2 separate regions of the Homo sapiens genome follow, and region 2 is linked to region 1. Evidence: promoter capture Hi-C in 16 types of primary human blood cells and fetal thymus (Javierre and others, 2016). All regions are on one chromosome and are shown on one strand. Each heading gives the region's core, a stretch centred on a gene start or on the middle of the fragment in contact. The rest is flanking DNA. Distances are from core to core; before and after follow the strand shown. Region 1 holds the start of FLJ46875 (a long non-coding RNA gene). Region 2 overlaps LOC124907897 (a long non-coding RNA gene).

The links. The method cuts DNA at HindIII sites, captures the fragments that hold promoters and counts their contacts. A CHiCAGO score of 5 or more calls a contact.
Region 2: a fragment that was not itself captured here is called in contact with the fragment with the promoter of FLJ46875 in region 1 in 1 of 17 cell types (erythroblasts); the score reaches 5.2 in erythroblasts.

What each region holds. Positions count from the first base shown.
Region 1 is chr2:156,339,681-156,344,216 of GRCh38, reverse strand. FLJ46875 (a long non-coding RNA gene) reads left to right here and starts at 2,097. Exons shown (of 1, transcript NR_147695.1): 1 at 2,097-4,536. RefSeq lists enhancers at 816-875, 2,083-2,636, 2,637-3,192 and silencers at 1,286-1,895, 2,436-2,535. The HindIII fragment of the contact is 3,407 bases long and covers 1-2,792 here.
Region 2 is chr2:156,794,312-156,798,847 of GRCh38, reverse strand. The region is part of intron 1 of LOC124907897 (a long non-coding RNA gene); the gene reads right to left. Among named protein-coding and RNA genes, the nearest start is that of LINC01958, 130 kb to the right of the region's middle. The HindIII fragment of the contact is 2,579 bases long and covers 754-3,332 here.

The DNA.
Region 1 (4,536 bases), core at 848-3,347:
TCTCAATAACACCACTTAGTGATAAACAATTCAGTGTCTTTCAACGGAAACATTCCTTTTAAAAACCACACAAACCAGAAATGGGAGCAAAATTGGAGAAAGTGATCTCATTGCATTTTGCTACCCATAATCCATTTGCTCACATGAGAAAACGTGGTGTTGGAAAGGGCCTGTGACATCATTAGACTGTAAATATGTCTGCTGTCCTGTAAATGAGGCAGACTGTGACTAGTTTTTCCTCTTAAAATAGTTTTAATGGTATATTTTAATTCATTATTTTCCTGAAGTGGCCCTAATATATTTTAAGATGTACAAAATTTTAAAATGTCAGAACACCAAATTAATCTACATTTGTTACCTGTCTCCCATGAGACACTGGGTGCTTATGTTTATTTGATAAAACTTTATCCCTGGACACAATATCCTTTAACATCCTAGAATGTAAGGGTAGAAAAGGAACTATCAGTCCTTAATGTTAATGAAGAAAGTGCGGCAGAGAAAGGCCGTGGTTTCTGCAAGGTGGCACAGAAAAGTACAGTGAAGACATAATTAAAACTCAAATTTCTTTATCTTCTAAACCCCAGCTCAGAGAACCTTCTACTATACCACTTTGCCTCACTAGTGAACTAAGAACCATTTCCCCCAACACTAGTAACTCACTCTAACCATGCCAAGTCACTGCAACACCTTGCTTGCATCTGCAAATTTTTATCTATGTCTATATCAGAACCTCAGAAAACATGTTCATAGCTGAGACATTTTGCTCAAGACGAAATACAGTTTTATAGTCTATTAATTGTTGGTCCAAGAAAACAGATTACCTCCAGTTGTATGTGGGTACCTTAATGAGTAGGACAAGTGTCAGGGTGTGTGACAGAATTGCCTGAGTATGGAAGGTAGCAGTGAGAGTCTCCACAAAAATATTAATACTTTCCTATAGAGAAAGCCCCTTTTAAAGTGGGAGCCTTTATTAAAGTCCAGAGTTAAAAAGTAAGCTCTTTAACGTTGAGATTATAGACTTTTAGAAAGTTCATTTATGCCATGTTTCAGGCCTATGCTAAATTCTACGGCAAAAAGACCTGTAAATGCACCGGAGCTGACAGCCTGGGTCCTGGAACCCTTCCTCACGCTGCTACTACGGGGCACCCTTTCTATAATACAACCCCCCGAATGAAAACACTAATGCAAGCCTGGCCCCACAAAAACCTAGATAATGCTTACGTTGAAGACGACAGGTTTTTCGCTTTTGTTTTCGGTTGAGGACTTACTACCCCAAAAACACATCCGACCTGTACTAGAATAGGTGTGTGAGGGAGCGGGAAAAGCTCGGGTCATTTTAACTGGACTAGAAAGGAACACAGCGATCCCCTCACTAAACTTGTCGCCAAGTTCCCTCCTCGCCATCCCAGGGTGCGGGAAAAACCCCCTCCCGCCCCGGGGCCCCGGCAGCACTCGGGGACGCCAGCACGCCGGGCTCCTTCCCACCCGCGAACCGCGCTCCCCGCAGGGCGGGCCGGGGCGGGGAAAAAGGAGCTCGACGCGAAGGGCCGCGGGCGGCCTGGGAAGGGAGGAGGGAGACTTGGGAGGCTGCCGGGCGGTTTTATTGTTTCCTTTCGCCCTCCTCCTACCGCGCCTCCGCCCCAGCGTCACTGGAAAGCCGCCCGAGCCGCCCGGCGGCAGGTTATTTATAGCGCGGGCTGCGCGCGCGTCACGGAGCCCGGCCCGGCTGACGGGGCCGCTGACGCGCTTGGCCGCGGGGCCGAGTCCGCGGGGCTGCGCGCCGGACGCCGGCGACAATGGGCTTCTGTGTGCAGCTGCCGCAGCCGCCGGGGGCCGGGGGCCGGGGGCCGGGGGAGGGGGGCGGGCGACTCCCCGGCTCCCTTCTTGGTCGGCCGCGACCCCCCGAAAGGTAACAGGCCTCTTTCGCCCCCGGCCAGGACCTGGGCCCTGTGGGCTTTTTTTTTTTCCATTTTATCAGTAAGTTCCCCTTGTCCCAGCCTCCGCTTTCACTTCCCGCGTTCCCTCCACCCCAAAAACCGCCCCAACATGTCCAGAGAGGGGCATCTACCCAGCCGCCCAGCCAGGGGCGACCACTTTGTGAGCCCCGGGGAGCGGGACCCGTACCAGGCGCGCCCAGCGGGGGATGCGGTGACCGAGGGGCCGGGAGCGCCGGGCAGGTAACGTATCCTGGACCTAGAGTCGGGGGACTTTGTTTGGGGCGGGAGGAGCGGAACAGGGGTGGGTGTGAACGCCGGACGGCCCTTCCGGGACTCCTGTCCCCCCTCCTTCGCCCCACTCGCCTGCGCGCTGGAAGCCAATCTGGGTGTGTAGCGCGAAGAGCGAAAGAGAAACTTCTGCGTGACTGACTAGATGAGGCTCCTCCCGAGAAGCCGAGATAATAGAGGCCCCCTCTCCCGCCGCCCGCCTTTTTCTCCTCCCCCGGCCGCTCGCTCCTGTCGCCCCACCCCTCGAAGGCTGCGGACCAGCCCCCCACACTTCCCCCTACACCTCTGGCGGGTTCGCGCCGTGGACGCCCCCGCCCTGCGGGAGGAGGGGCTGGCGCGGATTTTAGGGACTTCCTGGGATGCGGAGATCGGCTCTGAACCATCCCCTTTCTGCTGCCCGGAGCTGGGGAAGCTCGCTGTGGAGCGTCTCGCACGTGGCAGGCAGGCAGAGAACTTGCTGCACCTTCTAGGAAATTGCAATCGATTTGTAATGCACTTTCGCTAATTGGGAGTTCAAAATTAAACTTTAATAAAGCATTCGTGTCGTCTCGTCTAATTGTGAAAGCTTCCATCCGTCCTGGTAGATAGACTCTAAGTCTCAAGTTAATGGCGCTAAGCTAGATTTTCCCCCCAAGTACAATTCCGTCAGCCGTCGTCGGCGCAGCTGGATTTCCGTAAGGTACAGATGTTGCTAATGACAGCTTAAGCACGGATGGGCAGATAGCATACGGAATGCAACATGTTGCCATATGGTTCCTTTAGCCTTTCACCTCCAGGGATATCAATCACATATATTCTGGGAGGAACTTAATGACTCTCTGAACAGCAAAATGAATTACCTGGTACAATTTATATCCCTTGACCTGATACGTTATAACAACAGGAAGATAGCATCTCGCAATTTCTGTGGTATAAATTGAACTACAGAGCTACATTTAAAATTCTACATCTATTTGTAGTTTAAGGGGCCCTGTCATATTCTGGCTGTAAAATCTGTTTCTGTATTGCCCATCTCCTTCCCCCTCCTACCTCTGGAGGAAGCAAAATTTATAAAGTTTAGCAAAACTGGTGTCGGAAATTGCCAGTCAACTGATTAATAGATGAAGTATGGAGAAATGGAAAATATGACTTCCAGAGCTACTTACTTCAACAAGAATTAGCCATCTTTAGGAACACCATACTTTTAAGCGTACAAAATTAAAGAACTCCAGAAAATGTATTTTCTGCTAGTTGTTTCAGTATAGCTCCTAAATCTATTCATTAACTATTTGAAATTCTCCATTTATTTTCAAACTTCAACCATTCCTACACTTTGGAAATTACAGAAGACAGTTCTCAGAAATATGAAATACAGGAAATGTAAGTAGCACCTCCTCAGCGAACCAGTTTCTGTACCCACAACCCCATGCACTCACTATTTATGTAGCTTAATTTGAATCATGTACATGGTGGTACTGGTAGTTTGCTTTTTCCTCCCAACATGTCAGTGACAGCATACTTAAGTTGCTGCTTCTCTCCTAGTGGAGTGATTCTGCAATATTTCACAGGTCTCATTTTTAAATATCCTGGTGACTAATAAAATGTTTTAATTGATTGCCTTTAATTTCAGATTATAAACGTGGTTGTCTTACTGTATCCTTTATTTTCTATTCACTAATACAGATAGATCACACGGGAAGACAATACTTTAAGGGCAAAAAGTAAAATAACTTACTAGAATTTCTAAACTTTATGTTTACTTTTACCTACTAAGGGATATCTGAAAGGTAGAGACATACTTTTAAAACTTTTTGCTTCTGGCACTATGTAAACATTAATTCATGTAAACTAATGACTAGCAGAATGCCTAAGATAGACATGAACAGTCTGAAAAAGTATTTACTTTCAGTCATGTCAAGTTTCGGAAAGTGTTAACATTTTGAAAGTTTGTCTATATATCATGTCCTTTCATAATTATTGTGAAATTATAAGACGATGCTTCTCCTTTTTTTTTTCCTTTGTAGTGGCTGATTTGTTACCTAGTGCTTTAGTTCGATAATTTTGATAATTATTATCAAATAAGATCCTTTGTGTGTGTATATAGGAGAAAATCTTATACAGAACACATTAAGATATACATAAGTTATGGCAATCTTGTCTTCTGGGGCTGTTTTTTAAATCTTTTAATGGCTGAGGTTTTATTTCTCTTTGTAGCACCAGCACTCGATGTGTCTTAAATGTGATCAGTAGTGATGGTGAGCTTGTCAATAATGACTCCATCTCCATGACTTGTGAATAGGCGGTGAGTGTGTCCTTTAATCAGTCACACAGA
Region 2 (4,536 bases), core at 794-3,293, 450 kb before region 1:
TTTTTAGGTGAAGATGAAATTCAGAGAGATTAATTTGCTCAAGATGTAAGTGATAAAACCAGGATTCAAACCTTAGCCAAATTCCATAACCTCAATGCTTAACCCTTTTATCACACTTCTCATTTTCATCTTAGCTTTACTGCAATAGCCCATTCTTTGTAATATCATATATGCTTTATGTCCACTTTAGACTTTCATTTTTCTTTTCTTTTTTTTAACCTTTCCTATGGTGCTGATAAACTGTTTTCTTTAGCTATTCTCTCTATATAGTATGCATAAGTCTCTTTTTCTTTCACTGCTATCAATATAGACTGAAAAATTGTGGCACCCTCGCAAAGTATCATGTAATTACTTAATTACATGATACTTTTATACATTATAATCAATTTCCCATTTGCATGTCTTGAGTAAACTGGAAGCCATGGATTTTTAGTATCATTTTGCCATTCACCTAGGATTCACATCTTCTTTTAAAGATAACAAAGATACTTTATTTGACAGTAATTCAGGAGATAAAAATATTCATGTAAAGGTTATGTTCATCTCAAAAGATTGATTTTTATATTAAAAATAAAATAAAACATTGATTCTTAAACCTATATGAGGATTAAATTATTGATTTGGATTAAGAACCAACCTCAATAGTTCCATAATTTTATTGCTTCTGAGGTTCCATTTCTCACTTAGAAAATCAACTTAATCTCTTAGAAATGCCTTATGCAAGGTCCTTTCGCATTTACAGAAGTCAAAGCTTATGATACTTTGGGACTTGTAGTGACTCTTATCTCTAAGCACCACAAAGTACCATAAGTAGATTGTGCTGTTGCTCGCCCTCATTGCCTGATTATCCCAGCCACTCATAAGAAGAATAACATTTCAAGATTGGACCATAGCCAACTCAACTCTAGCCAACTGAAGACACTAAACCAGAGGAGTAATGTAGAGTACATTTATGTTCTAAAACAGCTTAGAGATTTTTTACTAAGTTTGATATCCTGTAATTTTAAAATTTCTTAAATATATATATTTATGTCAGTCAAGCAGGATACATTTACTGAGTATCTCTTCTCAGTGAAGATGGACTGATGGGAGAGAACCCAATGAAAGGACAAAGACCATCTAGCTACACCTCATTCCAGTCGTTGAACATTAAATAAGTCACATCCTCCCCAAGTGTCAATTTCTTCCATTGTTAAAGTAGATTTTAAGCCTACTCTGATTACTACACAACATTCTTATGAGGGTGATGTGAAACAACAGATGTGGCAGTTTTTGAAGAATCGTGAAACAATATATAATTAAATATATCTCATAAGCTAAGTTTTTTATCTTCCTGAAAAAGCTAGGCCCTGCTAGTCCTTTTTCCAATTCTCAAAGCACAGCCCTATTAATGAAGAACAAGTTTTCATTGAAAGGCAAAATTTTTATTTTGTTTAGGCATGACCACACCACTGAATTTTATACAGCTTCAGTTTTTTCATTTCTTGATCTATATGGCTTCAATAAACCACTTATGAATATTTAAGGACAGATGAACAAATTAACATCTTTAACAAACTGTAACAACTTGACATATTATCTGATTATGTGATTATTATTAGGTAATAATAATCAATAGAAAACATTTGTTGAGGCTGGGTGCAGTGGCTCACGCCTGTAATCCCAGCACTTTGGGAGGCCAAGGCGGGCAGATCACCTGAGGTCAGGAGTTCAAGACCAGTCTGGCCAACATGGTGAAACCACATCTCTATTAAAAATACAAAAATTAGTCAGGCATGAAGGTGAGCACCTGTAATCCCAGCTAATCAGGAGGCTGAAGCAGGAGAATCGCTTGAACCTAGGAGGTGGAGTTTGTAGTGAGCCAAGATAGTGCCATTGTACTCCAGCTTGGACGACAGACTGAGACTTCATCACAACAACAACAACAACAAAAATTGTTGAAGGCTGACTATTCTAGGCATTGTGTTTTGTAATGAATGTATATTGTTCAATCCTCATAACAACCCTGTGACTATTTCTTTTTAATAGATTTTAGATTTGAACTCATAGATGACTTAGCTTTTGTTCTTAACCATATTCATATTTCCTCAGTCTCAGGGAATTAGGTCAATTAATTTTTCAACAAACCATATCTTTCTTGCGTTTAGCAGTAAAATTTTTGAAGGCTATATACTTGCTGAAATTATGTTCAAATGCTTGAATCACTATGTTAGATATGAATGCTTGAATCAAATGCTTGAATCGCTGTTAGACATGACTTTTTGTTTGTTTGTTTGTTTTGTTTTGAGACGGAGTCTCACTCTGTCACCAGGCTGGAGTGCAGTGGCAGGATCTCGACTCACTGCAACCTCCGACTCCCTAATTTAAGCAATTCTCCTGCCTCAGCCTCCCAAGTAGCTAGGATTACAGGCACAGTTCACCACGTCCAGCTAATTTTTGTATTTTTTAGCAGAGACAAGGTTTCACTATGTTGGCCAGGATGGCCTCGATCTCCTGACCTCATGATCTGCCCGCCTTGGCCTCCCAAAGTGCTGGGATTACAGGCATGAGCCACCACGCCCAGCCAGATATGCCGTCTTTAAATATGTATCATCTTTTAAAAAGACTCACTAATTGTATTTTCACCTTAGTTTTGTGTCCAAACCATATTAAACAGTTTATTTATTAAATTAAGAGTAATTTTTCACTGGTTTCCAAAACAAAAACCACACACACAAAATAAAGATTCTGTTTCATTATTAAGTATATGTTAATTTTATGTTCTACTCTCTAAAAAATTATAAAAATGTTCTGAAATACATTGAATGCTGCCAATATCACTGAAAAATATTTTTAAAGACATGAGATGATATCTTTGGAAGGGAAAACAAATTACCCAAAGTTTTAGGTTTCAGTAAGTTGCTTCAAAATGTCAGAGAACAAAATTTATTGACTTTTCTTGGAATGCTTTCATTTCATAAACTGGGACACTGAGGCTCAGTGGGTAGATTGAATATCCCGGTTATTAGTTGAATCCCTTTCTCCCAAATAATAATGTTTGACCCCATTATGGTTCTTTCTACTTGTATCTTGTATTACTTACCAAGACTAGAGGTAGACAAGTGACAAGTAAACTGTGATTATATGTTACATTGAACTCCAATACTGTATATATAGTATTTCCCAAAATCGCTGGCAATTTCCCATAAAACTACACATGCATCATTCACATATTTCTTTTTTATAATATAACTCTTGTGCCTGACTATAAGCAACTAGATGTTTAACAAATTCAATAATCTGCTAATTCTAGAAATAACTCCTCCTATAACTTCTACCTCAACAAAGAAGCTTCCTAGTATATGACCTGTTTGGACAAACATTTAATGTAACAGTAAAATTTGAAAACAACAATATTTCATTTAAAAAAACTAACCAAATTATCTATCTATCTATCTATCTACAATGATTTGTGTCAAACCAGTAATTTGAATTTATAATCCCTGATGTTAAAAAAAAAATGCTTTCTTGAATGCAGTGTTTCCTGTTATCCTTGAGTGCCTTAAAATTTAACTGACTATATACATTTACTGAAAGACTATTGTGTCTTGGGTTCTGACTACACAAACCTGAATAAAACATTTTCACAACCTTCAACTAGTTTACAGTAAAATAAGAGGCAACCAGTAATAACACTGTGAAGGGGATAAGTGTGATAACCATGGCACAAAAGCAGAAAGGGGCCTCCTGCCTCATAGAATCAGAAGCATGGGGTGAGGTATGAGGCTAAATAGAGGAGAGGTGTGTCCCAGGTAAAGACACAAATAAGTAAAGGCAAGAACTTACGAAAATGGTTGGCGGGTCTGGGAAGGAGAAAAGTGCAGAGTTCACAGAGGCAAGAACGTGAGGTGGGGAAGGGCAGAATGAACTGAAGAAATTAAAGATAGAAATATTAGAGATAGATTGTGTGGAAACCCTCTTGTTAAGGAGTTTAGATTTTACCCTATAAGCAATGGGTCATCACGAAATGTTTCTGATTAGAGGAAAAACAGGATTGTGTCTTTGTTTCAGAAGGATAACAGCACCCACACAATATGAAGTATTTTATTTTTTAAGTAAAAGTATTTGTATAATTAAATTTATTTTTCAATCCCAAAATATTTTTCAAATAAGTAAGGGTGCTTCCCATATTTCTGAACCAAGTTTGATTTTAGATTTTAGGAACTCTTCAGCTCTCTTTCTGTCTGTCATCTTAAATCTTACCTCCAGAATGTCCTTACTTTTTCCCCTTAGGGTATTTTTAATGCAAATATGAAAATACACCTACCACCAAATGAAATTTCACTTGTTTACTTTCCCATCAGGGAAAGCTAGCTATCAGGCCAGGTAGAGTGAATGTTGGTTGCTGTTTCAGCATGCATTTCCCTTTTTTCTATCACCTGGAACCTTATTTCCAATGAGATATTTACGTGCTTCTAGGTAAGTTCACGCCTTCCTCAGATCAAGCATGGAGGCTTGTTTAAGACTAGATTAATCAGTGCATTTCATCCCCCTGGT